Linked DNA regions of Homo sapiens: region 2 is linked to region 1. The links are contacts of gene promoters, found by promoter capture Hi-C in blood cells and fetal thymus (Javierre and others, 2016). All regions are on one chromosome and are shown on one strand. Each heading gives the region's core, a stretch centred on a gene start or on the middle of the fragment in contact. The rest is flanking DNA. Distances are from core to core; before and after follow the strand shown. Region 1 holds the start of MNS1 (meiosis specific nuclear structural 1). Region 2 has its middle 6.3 kb from the start of RFX7.

Evidence for each region. Contacts are between HindIII fragments. The CHiCAGO score rates a contact against its expected background, and 5 or more counts as called.
Region 2: a contact is called between a fragment that was not itself captured here and the fragment with the promoter of MNS1 in region 1, in 2 of 17 cell types (erythroblasts and megakaryocytes). The highest score is 7.6, in erythroblasts.

What each region holds. Positions count from the first base shown.
Region 1 is chr15:56,462,126-56,469,487 of GRCh38, reverse strand. It overlaps MNS1 (meiosis specific nuclear structural 1), which reads left to right and starts at 4,351. Exons shown (of 10, transcript NM_018365.4): 1 at 4,351-4,518; 2 at 5,241-5,462. The coding sequence starts at 4,516. RefSeq lists an enhancer at 799-848 and a silencer at 4,172-4,421. The HindIII fragment of the contact is 3,006 bases long and covers 3,505-6,510 here.
Region 2 is chr15:56,246,503-56,253,864 of GRCh38, reverse strand. It overlaps a transcript of TEX9 not described here. Among named protein-coding and RNA genes, the nearest start is that of RFX7, 6.3 kb to the right of the region's middle. The HindIII fragment of the contact is 3,453 bases long and covers 2,509-5,961 here.

The DNA of each region.
Region 1 (7,362 bases), core at 3,102-5,601:
CCCTCTGGCCCTCCAGACACACTTCTCTAGGTACATAGCTGATATGCCACAATTTAATTAGCCATTCCCTAAACACTGCATGTTTAGATCACCCATTTTTGTGGTGTTTTGTTTTTGTTTTTTTGCTAAATTAGAAAATTTTGCAATAAATAAAATCGTGCCTTTAGTCGTTTAAAATTTTTGGTCTGGTTAAGTTTTCACTAGAAAAATTGCCATAAATATATCAAATGTCATCAAATTTGGTACCTTTTTAAAGTTAAGAAATGAAAAAAATCCATATAAACATAGTTTACACATGTATATATCTCTATATAAATATAGGTATATATGTATACTTTTCTTTTTACCAATAAGAGCTTATATAATTCAGAAGGGGATTCCTCCACTCTTCATGATGAATTTAATATGGTCATCTTTACTTCACCGCTAGCCAAATTACAGTCTCTGTGCATCATATAACAAATTCCTAATGACATCACAAGTTATTTGACATCACAAATTCTGTATTCCATTCCTATATACATAATATGTAGATGCCAGTCTTCTATTTTACTACTCATTTACAAATAGTGGCTTTTCAATAAAATTACCCAGGTAAATTTTTATTCATATCTACAATGAATAAGCATTCTTTCTGTGTAGTGTTCTCAACCCTAGAAATCAATATATTACAATTCTGTAGTTCTTTCTCAGTGTTATGCTAGAATTCATGAAGTCAGCAATCTCCTATTCCTGTAGACATAGTGAAGATGCAAGAGCAAAAGTGAAAGTGAGAGACGAGGAACGAAAGACATCCACTAAGCCTGGGTTTCAGTGAGCTCACCAACCATTTCTTCATGTCTCTTTACCCCTAACAATTATTTAGCACTTGATCACATCATCACACAGTCCATATGATTCCCAGATTATGGTGGCTAAAATATCCAGAAACAGATTTTCTTGTCTTAATGAAACAATCAAATTCAATATATGGAAGTTAGCCTATTCTGCATCAACCAGAAAGTAGTCACTTCCTAACTGCATATGACAGACAGAAAAAGTACTAAAGGAAGTTATATACAATGAAACCATTAAATGCAGATTTGCCACAAGGCAAGATGGTAATACTTGAACATTATGAAGTGCAGAAACTGCACAAGCACATTATATTTTAAACACTTCATCTATTTAACAAACTATGTACCCTCTTCAGCTAAATAAGATGAATTGAGATTCAAGAGGCAGCACCATACTAGCAAATCTCATCCTAAAGGCATCCATTAATATAAATCAACAGCAGCAATTTGGTTTGATCACTTATTTGCAAGAATCATTAAGGTTTATTAGCATAATTGTTCCCTCTGGGATTTCATGTCGAGAAAATGAAGAATGGCATTATCAATATTTAAAAGATAAGTGTGTAATGTTCAGAGTATTTCAACAGTCATCTGCAGGTGGTGTCCAGCTGCAGCAAATTAGATTAGATTTGGGCATTTTTCTGAACGAAAGAAAAATTGTTTTGTTCTAATTGCTTTATTTTATAAAGCAATACCATTTCGTAAATAATTTTTACTGTATAGCTACACTTAACAGTGCACATCTATTAACATGCTTTATTTCAGATCAGCAACTCTGTTAAGTTCAACCCTGTTATATTGTAACTACTGGGGGACATTAATCAGTATAATTCATCATCCATTATAAGGAAAAGCTCCTTCCCCTCAGTACTCTAGACATTTTAGTCTAGACTTGTAGGTAAAAAGTTGTTTTCTAGAGGGAAATGAACGAGAAGACTTCCTTGTAATGTTGGGAAGGCATAAGTCCTCCCTTAACAATGAAGTATCATTTATGATAGTAATAATTTATTACTAGAAATAATATTTAAATGTAATAATTGTTTTTTAATAATGACATGCAATGGAATGTTATTTAGTGATAAAAATAAATGAGCTATCAAGTCACATAAAGATTTGCAGGAACCTTTAAATGAGTTTTGCTAAGGGAAAGATGCCGGTCTGAAAAGGCTACATACTGTATGATTCCAAAGATACGACATTCTGGAAAAGGCAAATCTATAGAAACAATAGAAAGATTAGTGGTTCCCAGGGGTTTGGGAGGAAGGAGTGAGGGAGAAATGAATAGGTAGAACACAGAGACTTTTTAGGCAGTGAAACTATTCTGTATGATACTGTAATAATAGATATATGACAATATGTCTCAATTTTCTGACCTCAAGCAACCTTCTTGCCTCAGTCTCCCAAGTAACTGGGATTACAGGTGCAAGCCACCACTCCTGGCCAGATACATGACATTATGTATTTCTCAAAACCCACCTGGGAGCAGTGGCTCATGCCTATACTCCCAGCACTTTGGGAGGCCAAGGTGGGTGTATGACTTGAGGTCAGGAGTTCAAGACCAGCCTGGCCAAACTGGTGAAACTCCGTCTCCACTAAAAATACAAAAATTTGCTTGTAGTCTCAGCTACTTGGGAGGCTGAGGCAGGAGAATCGCTTGAACCTGGGAGGTAGAGGTTGCAGTGAGCCGAGATCATGTCACTGCACTACAGACTGGGCAACATAGCCAGACTTCATCTCAGAAAAAAAACAAAACAAATCCTCATAGACCTGTACAAAACAAAGAGTGAACCCTAATGTCAATTACGAACTTAATCATATTAATATTGGTTCGTCAAGTGTAACAAATGTACTACACTAATATGTAATGCTAAAAATAGGGGAAATTGTATGGGTGCGGTGGGGAGGAGAGGTGAGACGGGGAATTCTCTGTATTCTGTCAATTTTTCTGTAAACCTAAAACTGCTTCGAAAAAGGAGCAAAGTCTATTAAAAATGTAGTAATTGTTAGGATAATTTTTTAAAGGTTAAAATCAGCTAATTGTTACAATTGATTAAATTTGTCTTGGATTTAGGTCAATATTCTGGCCAAAAATCTTTTTCTCAGATTACCTATGAAATTATATGAATCCTTCTACCATATCCAAGGGTATACTGGAAATGAGGAATTATAACTGAAGTTCCCTTTAGAGACGAAAGTCTTCATTTCGAGAAGTAAACAGTAAAAAACATACATGTTTGCTGAAATACTTTGCAATGTCACTATTTCACTATTAGGAATTAACAAATTAAACCCCACACTCTATTGAATGTGTTATACCCTGTTCAACCCTGAACCCATGCCTGTCTCCTGTCTCTTCTATACAGTGCCCAACCCTTTGCGGAGATGGATATGCCAAGAAGAGAAATTTATAGCAGGCTGCCTGCTTTGCTCCATTCCAGATCAATTTACACAGAACACCCAGAGGGCAGGTTTACGCCTTCTCTCCATTTCTCTCAAACAGTGATGGCAATGAGTGGAGTACTAGAGACAACATAGATATGCAACCACGGGATAAATGACCAAAGGACAGAGAGACGAGCGACCTCAGTTGTATGATGGAACCAAGAGAAGTCGCTGATTTTTAGTTGTTTTGATCTGGTTGTAAGGATGGGGTGACAACTTCCAAGCTTTTACACGTCAGCACTGAAACTGCAAGTCCCATTTGTTATTAATCTTTAAGCAGACATATTGCTACAGAAGACGGACTCCAAATTAGAATAACACAAAGTTATACCACTAATCACCTTATACAAATATTTTAGTGTTGACAAGATTTCTCTGAATGTATCATTTCTAAAATCAGTATATCTAATTTCTCTGATCCATTATCATTCTTAAACTTCCCATTTAAAATGGACTTTAGTGTCTAACCTGCCTATGGAATGAACCAGATCAACATCCTGCCATCATGTAACGTGCTCTCTCTTGGTACCTGGACCACATAGCAGAGTAAGATTCATGTGGCTCATAGATTTTAGTCCCAAAATTTACCAGCAGCTTCTGCGGGGGGGGGGGGGGGGCGGGGGGGTGAAGTGAAGGCTGCTGGAAGCTCGTGCTACCCTCAGTGCCTCACAACCCAGCAAAGGGGACAGCGACCTGGACTCCCATTGCTGAGGATTAAACCAGTCATCGTCCCTAGCAGAGACCTGGCTGACTAGGCACTTAGTGTGCGGGATGCTCCATGCGTGGAAATTTCCTTCGGCTCCATGCATTAGGCAGTAGTTTGCGTATTTCTCTGTGCGCAGTCTCCACAGTCCCGAACTTGGCTCCCAAACCCACTGAAACCACAGTTCGGCCGCTGGAGGGAAATCGAGCTTCCCTAGCCCACTGCAAAGTGCTTGGGTCAGGCCACAGTCTGAACTTCCCGCTTTTCTAGTTTAGACCTATAGAAGTAGCCCTCCTGCCCTGGTCCTAAGAAGCTCAATGCCGATTGTATCTTATCGCGTCCAATGGGAGGCCACGTTCTGCGTGGGTCACTTTTGGTCGAGCGGAGGGCGCGCAGCTCCACCGTTGCCAAGACGCCGCGTAAACACCCGAGCGCGCGCAGCCAGGTGCGCTCCTTGGGGCTGCTGGCTGCTGCGTTTGCGGCGGGAGGTGGTGGCCGCGGTCCCACGAGAGGGGGTATTTTTCGTCAGCCAAGATGGTGAGCCAGTTGGGGGACTTGAAACTACTTGTTTATTGTTGATTTAATTCTAGTTTGGCGCTCATCTGCTTCTAAAAAAGGATTTTAAGTGCTTAATCTGGTCATTAATTGGGGAACTTGTATTTGCTTTCGGAGGCTTCAGGTGCTATTAGAAGGGACGCTCGCGGTGGTTTCCAGCTTTTTTGGCACTTTTCGCATAGTGTATTAAATACATCTTTAAATCTGCCCAATAGAACCTCTGAAGAAATAAGTAGATATAAAAGTGTAGGAGAAAGCGAATTGATAAATAGCGGCGAATTGACCTATTACATTTATGTTAGGAAAATCTGACCAGCTTCTGAACAGCACTTTATGGCCCTGTGGTGGTAGTCGTGGTGGTGGTGGTGGTGGGTGGAATGAGGGGAGGAGAAATTCCCTGGTGGTAGTAAAGATCTGGGTCTGTAGGGTGCGATTAATCCTAGCACAGCTATTTATTAGCTGCAGAACCTTGGGTAAAGTTACTTTTCATGTTTCATCTATAAAATAGGTAATAATAACAGTACCTATTTAATCGATATGTGAACATATTTACCACGTTTACTTTTTATTCGGTATACTCCTTTGAATTTAGGAAGGAAGCCAGGCTCTTCGTATCCTTTCTTACTAAGGTTTATATCAATACATTTTTTAAAATTAGATTTTGGAATATCAAAATATGCATCTTTTTTTTTCTTCCATCGTAGGGTTCCAAAAGGAGAAATTTGAGCTGTAGTGAAAGGCATCAGAAATTAGTAGATGAAAACTACTGCAAAAAATTACATGTCCAAGCTCTAAAAAACGTCAACAGTCAAATCAGGAATCAAATGGTGCAGAATGAAAATGATAACCGTGTTCAGCGCAAGCAATTTCTCAGATTATTACAAAATGAACAATTTGAGTTGGATATGGAAGAGGCCATTCAAAAGGTAAGTTTTACTATTCATTGTTACTTTTTTTTTCATTTTGCACCTTGGAAACGATGAAAGTCAGCTGTTAATGCTGGAAATGAGTAGATAAACAACAGCAGCAGGTAAGTGATGCCTGATTGTGCCTCAGCTCGGTGTAATCGTAAAGACCTGGGTTTCTGGAGCCGGCCTGTCTTTGAATCCTACTACTGCTATACCTTAGCTACGGACCCTTGAGTAAGTTGCTTTTACTTTTTTTTTTTTTTGGATGGAGTCTTGCTCTGTCGCCCAGGTTGCAGTGCAGTGGCACGATCTTGGCTCACTGCAACCTCTGCCTCCGGGGTTCAAGCGATTCTTCTGCCTCAGCCTCCTGAATAGCTGGGACTATAGGCGCGCAACACCACGCCTGGCTAATTTTTTAATTTTTAGTAGAGACGGGGTTTCACCATATTGACCAGGCTGATCTCGAACTCCTAACCTCGTGATCCGCCCGCCTCGGCCTCCCAAAGTGCTGGGATTATAGGGGTGAGCCACCGCGCCCAGCCTGCTTTTATTTTTTATGCTTTTTCTATAAAATGGGGAATAAGAATAGTACCTCCTACTTAGGATTGTTTTAATAATGAGTTAATACATGCAAGACTCTTGGAATAGTGCCTGGTACAGAATAAGCACTCAGATTTTTTTTTAACATAAATATGAACTCTGTAATTACTACCAGTTTTGTTCATGTAAGTACAATTGTGTTGCCTTTCATAAATTTCTAAAAACAAAAATTTAGGGGTGCCTTTAAAAAATTTACTGAAATTAATGTATACATTATTAAGTGGTAGAAAATGAACCCTTAGGTATATCTCAACATTTTAAGGGATTAAGGTGGTAGAAAAGGGAAACTAATAAGAATTGAGACATGATAGAAGTGAATTCTCATAAATATATAAAAGGTATTCTGATATGTCAGTAGTTTTTGAGTAGCTGCTGTATGTTAAACATTTTGGAGGATTTTGTGGAGAATAACAAAAGCAAATTTAAAAAATGATATCCACCCTTCTGTGTTCCAAATTCAAAAGCTTAGATATGATTTTTTTTTTTAACTCTGAGAAAGCACATCTTAGGGGTTGGATATTTTTCCTATTCTTATTATTTTCTCTTTAATTTGAAAGAATATCCCAGGTATCACACCAACTCTTTCCTACATAGTTAAGTGTACATCTAACAAAATATGGATGTTTTCTTACATGGAGTACCATAATACTATTATCTCACCCATTCCATAAACACATTTCTGTGATTGTGTCAAAAATCTGCTTTTACAGTTGGTTTGTTTTAACCAAGATCCAAGGAACATTCATACGGTGTATTTGGTGGTTATGTCTGTTTAAGTCCCTCTTAATTGAAAACAGCCCCTCCTTCACCGTGTTTTTCTTTTTTGACTTCATGTTTTTAGCTTGCTAAACTAAGCCAGTTGTTTTATCCAGTAGCCCACATTCTGAATATACGTGTTTGCTTCCTCATGTTCCTTTAATTTATTTCCCTATCTGTTATATTTCCTCTAAATAGAACCTAGCCATAAAGACACAATTAGATTGCGGTCCACCTTTTTTGGCAAGAATACTCCATAGGTGATGCTGTCTTTGTCATTGTGTCACAACAGGGAACACATGAGGTCTGGTTGTTCCACTTTTAGTGATGCCAGTATTGATCAGTGGGTTTAGGAAGACAGTCTGGTTTCTCCACTGTAAAGGTTCCCATCAAACTTTCATCTGTGGTTTCACAAAAGAATTTTTTCTTTCATTAGTGGTTACAAAAACTGATTTTCTGATTCTTTTATTCCTTTCACATTTAATTAGCTGAAATTCCTCTGTAAAGAACTTCACCTTGGGCCAGCACAATTGCTCACCCATATAATTCTAGCACTTTGGGA
Region 2 (7,362 bases), core at 2,986-5,485, 220 kb after region 1:
CACATTGGGTAGTCTATTCCATTTTTTTTTAATGTTCTTTCATGGGAGTGGGAGACACTGATTGTGAAGAGCTGTAATTTTTAGCCACTTTTTCCACCTTATACATTGGGCAGCGATAAGTGACATTTTCAGTCAGATTTGGCTAACAAGCTCATCCTGTTATGGAATTCTACTCCCTCCCTGCCATACCTCAATTCCTGACTGCTGAGTAGCCTGTTCAGAGTACATCAAGAGCTAACTTTAACAGCTTTAATACTCACTAAGAGAACCCTTCTGAGAGTAGCTAGAAAGCACAGACCCTCATCTCTAATATTATTTGGGGTTTTGAGTCCCTGAATAGCTAGTGTCATTTGGCTTTCTTTAGGGACCTCAGAAGGGATACGTGTTTAAAGTTCCTATAAATATTGTGTAAGATTTTCCAACTGATTATGAAGACCTTCCGTTCTTTCTCCTTTTTCAGTTCTGGGGTTGATATTTGGAGGGGGTTAAAGTCAGACACCTCTGTACACTCCCAGGACTCTCTGACATAGCATGTGTTGAACCTCTCCTTGTTTTATGATTTTTGGGGTTTTTTTGCTTGGTGTAGGCAAAATTTTTTCTTCTTGCCATCCAATGGTGCCTCTTTCCCTATCTGCTTTGTGCATTTCAAACACGCAGAGTTTGAATGTCCTTCTGTGCTCTGATCAAGGAATTTCTTGCAGCAGCTATCTTAGGTGCCGTGTGGCTTTTAGTGATCATGACCTGTGCTTTATCAGACTATAAAGTAGTGGCATGTAAAAACTAGGCTGCCACCACTTTTGGTTTTCAGGACTCCTGTCATTTTTAGGGCCCTTATCCCCTGCCATCAATCTATTCCTTCCCTTCTCCTCTCTACCTTCCAGAAAAAAAGGAAGGGAAATTCATAATTTATTTGGCTTTTACTATGTGTAAAGCATTGTGTGGAGTATTTTCAGAAATATTTTTCATTAAATTATCAGTACAACTGAGTGAAGGAGTTATTATCCCCACTTTTACCAATTGGAAAACTGAGGCTCAGAGAAGCAAAGAACTTGCCTGAGATCACAAAAATGGCAAGTGGTAGAGCTGAGATTTGGATCCTAGACTCTAAATTTGGAAGCCCGGGGGATCTCCATGAGGGTCAGCCTCAAGCCTCATCTGCCCAAGAGTGTGGATCTGAATTCAGATAAGAAACTAGAGGTTACAGGAAGCACGCAGCAGACTCTTTTCCTTAAAAGGAACAAAGCTGGCCAGAGTACCTTTAAATCTGGAGAATTGTAGCACCAGATGTCAGGCTGAACAGACACAGTTGGCTGCTTGAAAAATTTTTGTAAAGTCATGGAGACATGAATTTTAAGTACAAATTAACTATGTTCTCAGCTCCTACACCATTATTATGAATAAGATATTGAGCTTTCTTATTAGCCCATTCTGCTTTTTCTGACATTCTGCTTTTATTTTGTGGCCTGGACAAAAAAAAAAAAAAAAGGTTTTTCTAATAGCTCAATTCAACAAACATTCATTGTTTGGCTACTTTGTGGGAGTGACTATAGTATATGTTGGAGATATAGAGAAGATTAAAAACATACTTCCTGACCAAATATAGTTTGTAGTACTGGAAGTCAGGTAGAGGGAGTGTAGATGCAAGAAATAGGCAAACAAACCTACAATTAGCCTACAATGAGATAGTATGACATAAGGCTGTACAAGGTACCACAGAGCCACAGAAAAGAGACAGCTAACACAAACTGGCTGGGAGTGGGTAGGGAATGGATAAGGGAAAACTGCTGAGAGGATGCAATTCTTGACAAAAGAGTGAGCCCTTCACACCATAACTTTATGTGTAAGACTCTCTGGGGGAGGAGAAAATCACACTAAACTAAGGAAGTAATGAAAGTCTTCTCCTGAGTGTCTGAGAAGATAATTCAGTTGCTAGAGCTGCACTGGAGCCTAAACAAACTTTTCACTCCCCAGCTCCCCTTAAGTTTCTATGCCGTCGCTTGTATGTCTGTTCCTGGATTTCTGGGTGGTTATCCTGAATTTCCCCAAGGCCTGGCCAATAATCCATTCCTCTTCATTTGCACCTGCTTTCTCTGGTGCTCCATGAGGAAATTTACTCAGCTTCTATCATTCCCTGGGCCTACTGCTCCTATCAACACTAAGCCATTATCTTATCTTCTTTAAGCCCTCTGAGCTCCTCTTCACACAGTTTCTGCTTAATCATTGCCTCTTCTGGTTGTTGTCTAATGGTTTCTGAGGTTAGCTTTCTCTTGTGTATCTTTCAGCTACTGTTTTTACTCCCAACTGCCTAACCTTCTCTCCTTATCATATTCATACTCTCCAAAAAAGGAATCAATCCGTTAGCTAATTACTAACATCTTCCTTGGGCAAAGGTTTTATTGAGTCAGCTCATAAGCCACTGTCTAGCCGGAAGATTGATTGTCATGGTGTCAAATGTTGAGCCCTGTTCCAACTAGGGGGCCAGGGTTACAAGAGACAAGGATGGAAGCTTACATCAACAGAGCCAGGCTTGGAGGGTGACTGTGGATATGGCCGACAACCTGAGGCTTTGCTGAATTAGGAGAATGACACTACAGGCATAATTAGAGGCATTTTAAACGGAGAAAACAAAAACATACTAACATCAGCCACAATATAACACTGGCATAACTTCAGGAGATGGTAAGGGAAAAAGGGATGAAGAAAAATAGAAATTCATCCTTGGGAATAAACATTTATGTACAGGGAAGAGCAGAGAAAGTAGATCTATTCTTGGAAAGGAGACAGGTTGGCCCACTTCATAAGAAATTACCTTTCCTGAGATCCACATAAAGAAAATCCAAAGACATCTTCTCAAATACATGAGGAGTGACTTACAGAGTGTGGTAAGTGTCATGGTTCCTTGGCCTAGCCAAGTTGACACATACCCAGCTATTCAAATCATACTCTAAGCTGGATGTTGCTGTAAAGGTACGTATTTTGCAGATGTGGTTAATTAGCTACAATCAGTTGACTTAAGTAGATTATCCTAAATAATTTTGGTGGGTCTCATCCAATCAGGTGAAAGGTCTTAAGAGCAAAACTGAATTATTTTGTTTTTTTTTTTCCCTAAGGAAGAAGAAATTTCACCTGTGGGTTGCAGCATCCACTATGCAAGGCATTTTGGCCTTCCCTACAGATTTCAGACTTGCCAGCCTCACAATCACATAAGCCAATTCCTTTAAAATATGTAAACATACAAATATAAAATATATATCTCCTACTACTTGTTCTCTCGTAGAACCTCGCTTTGTACACAGTATGGAAGCACAAACTCCTCAGACTAGCTTGAATACACTCGGAATTTGGTACCCCATATAACCTTTATCATCAGCTGTTCACTCCAATTAGACCAGTCTTCTGTGTGTCTTGTCATTTGCATGCTCGTTTTCCTGCTTCTACTCACACTGCCTTTCCCTTCGGACTTGTCTCCATTCTTTCTCCCACCTTTATAAATCCTTCATTTTACTCACACTCTAGCTCCATCCCAAGTCCTCCACGCCACTTTTAACTTTAGCTCCTTTTGCTCTTTCTCTAAACTTCCTTAGCAGTTATTAGCTACGCCATTCACTGGTTTTTAATCTTATATATCTCACCTACCAGTGTCTTTTTTATATAGCATCCACCACTAGGAAGTATAAATTTGCAAGTACAAATTTGGGTGTGCAAGACATGTCACTATTCTTTAAATCAAATTAAATTTACCACAGACTTAAGTGATCTCAGCCTTAATTCTGCTGGAGTAGAAGGAAATCCAATCTCAGTTCTTACTGGGCTTTCCTCTCTTCCTAGTACTGCAGTAGGGTTTGAAAGACTTATGTTGAGCCTAGAAAATGGAAGATGGACTTTGACATCCTCACTGGCAATTCCTCCACTTATGGGCCAAGAGAGGCAAGGGAATCCAGCCTCCCTAATGGCATTGTGCATCCATATGAGGTTAGAGTATCTCCCTGGGGTACTCTTATTCTTACTACTGGAACCCCAATCTTTGATTTTCTACAGCTCATGGGAATTTTTTTTTCTGTAATTCCACCTGCCCATAGATGCTTCTTCTTTCCTCTTTTTTTTTTTTTTTTTTTTTTTTTTGAGACAGATCCTCACTGTGTCGCCCAGGCTGGAGTGCAGTGGCACAATCTCGACTCACTGCAACCTCCACCTCCCTGATTCAAGCAATTCTCTGCCTTAGCCTCAGCCTCCCAAGTAGCTGGGATTACAGGCACCTGCCATCATGCCCGGCTAATTTTTGTATTTTTAGTAGAAACGGGGTTTCACCATCTTCGCCAGGCTGGTCTTGAATTCCTGACCTTGTGATCCACCTGTCTCAGCGCCCCTTCCTTCCTTCCCTCCCTCCCTCCTTTCTTCCCTCCCTCCCTCCCTCTCTCTCTCTCCCCAGATGTGCTTACCTTTTTAACCCCCTAGCAACATCTCCTCAAGGAGCAACAAACTTGAAAGACAGATTGCTGGGTCCAATTCCAGAAATAACATTGACACTGCATTCTAAGGAGTCCTGTTCCAGGAGGCTTCATTTAAAATGTGAATGGTGCCCCCTGGAGTTGCCTAAGAGAGAGCTCTTGTCAGACAACTTTCTGCCTAGTAACACAAAGTTCCCTTGAAGCCTGCTTGGAATGGAAGGGAGGGAAAATATAAGGAGCATAAAACCCAAATAAATAGCTCAATAAATTATCCTGTCACACACCTTTTGTTTGTTTTTTGTGTTTTTATTTCACTTTTAAAAATATGTATGGGCTGACATGTGTAGTGTTCCAATTAGATTATGAGCTTCTTGAAAATGAGAACAATATTTTACTACTTATTTTTTAATCTTTCTAAGGTCCCAATATAGTAACTTGTACATAGCAGGTTCTCGAATGTGCCTTGAAAGGAATGGAGGAATGATCGACCTTGTGAATTATTGGTTAGGCCCCACCTGTTCAGACTGCACTGGCACTGACTTCCTCACTGTGGGATTGGCTCTGGTGTCTTTTCATTGTCACTTTTAGTGTTAAGTAAATAACTAAAACACTTTTAGTGTCACAATTTAGTGTTTTTCTTTATCTGCTTCTGTTCACAGCCACTCCTTTCCTGAATTTCTAAGATATCAAATTTCTACTTGGGACTTTTTGGCCCAAGTTAAAGTAAACACTTCCTTTAAAATGTATGTAGATGATATTAACTTGAACCTTCTTTAATGTAAAAGAATTGAAAGTTACAACATAAACATGTATATGGTACCAACAGTGGAAAATTTCTAAGTGAAATCAAAGCGGGATCTAGCATTTGTTTCATCATACTACTCACTTGAAGAGCTGAGTATATTATGTGAACTTTATCCCACTAATCCTTAGAGATAAGCAAAGGTACTTGAAAGAATGACTTGTACAGATAGGGTCACATAGCCAGGTAGTGACAGTGTTAACAGTCTGCTGCCTTGACAGTATTTGAATAGTTAGGCTACTTAGCCTTAACACTGGGCTATACATTGTTTTAATGACATAATGACATATTTGTGCTCTAACAGAAGAATTCACATTTTCACAGCATACTTACATTAGCACTCTTGGTATTGAGAACATGTATCAAAATTTGCCAATATTAACTTAGTTCTGAACCCCCCAACTTCCCTCTTCTGTAATCTTGCTGCTGCTTTTATTTTTCTCCTCTTCACTCCCTCCCACATCCTCTTCTCTCTAATGCTATTAAAGACTGAAAGAAAGCTCAATCACATTACAGCATTGAAACTTATATATATATAAGCCCTCCTAGGACTACTTGCACTTTGAAAGACAACAGCTTAGCTGAAAGAAATTATCCATCACTTTCTGCTATCAAGGAAGAATTGGGAGAGGTGAAAAGCCTTCTTTCCTTGTTCTCTTAAATAACATGTAGGTCATTAAACTCTACTTTCAGCTTCTAGAGGAGAAAGCTTGCAATGGAAAAAGACAGAGGAAGTAATGATCAGGGGAAAAGAGGATGAGAGGAGTATTTTATTTTTATATTCAAGTTGGGAAAGAAGGAGAACAGGGTAGAACTTTACCTTTTCCATATCTGGTAAACCACCATACTTTGTGGAAGTGAAATGTATACTTTCAGCACTTAATCAGTATGTACCAATAATGAAACCGACTTTCAGGCCTTCCTTTGATAGAACGATCCTAACTATAATGCAAAGTAACATTTTGTAAAGTGGGTTTTTGTCTCTCTCTCCTTCTTTTCCCTCGCCTATACTACTTTAGGATCTGATCACAGAGTCAACACCGTGCTATGCATTATTCCTTCAGCAAACAGTACCCTTTCATGGCTTCACACCAGTGCTCATGTTACTCCCTTTATCTGAAATCATCTTCCCTCTGTTGCTCTGCCTACTCAACTCCTATTCATCCAACAAGACCCAATTAAAATGCCAGCCATGATGCCTTCTCCAGTTCTTCTACCCTGAGCAAGACCAATCCCTCCCTCCATTATGACTCCACAACACTAGTGGATATGTTTATAACTCATCATCTTATATATGTTAATATGTTGCTCTACTTCACAAAAATGTAAACTACTTCAAGTTGGGGCCAGGTCTTATTTATTCATATTTTCCGTGCCCAATACTGCTATATATCAGGCATGATAAATGTATATACTACAGTCTGGACAGTATAAAATGTTTACAGTTTCATAAAGGAGACAAGGTTTACAGACACAAGAGAGCAAGACAATATAATGGATTGGGCTAGGAAAATGAGGGTTAGTTAACTACTAAATTCCACAAATATTTATTAAATAGTCAGGAGTCAGGAATTATGTCCTGGGACTACTAGGATAAATAAAATAGTCATTTCCTTTGAGGTGCTGACAATCCATCTTGTAGATACTCTCTAAATGTGGACAACACTTCCCTGGTTTACCTATAACTTTTCATGTTTTCCTTATAGCAACCCTCTGATGTACATCATTATTTTCATTTTTATAGAGATCGAAACAGAGGGTTTGAATTCCCAGGTCTTCTGACTCCAAGGCCAGGTTTTTCTAACCCACTACATCAGTGTTCCTCAAAATTTTCCTCTGGTGTACACTTTCCCAGTAGAGAATAAACTTAGGCTCCTCAGGGTTGGGTAATACTTGTGTGTTATCTTAAAAAGTCATGCTTACTACAATGTCTTACCTTATTTACCAGAGAGTCAAAATGATGCTCAGAGAAAATGAGCCACATTGATTCTGGGTCCTTGAGGGTCCTCAGTACAGGGTTGCACAATCAAAGGAACCCACATAATATGAGAAGCACATGGCTACACTCCTGCCTTTATTCAGGGTCCCTGGGTTTGGCTTGAGTCCACACTC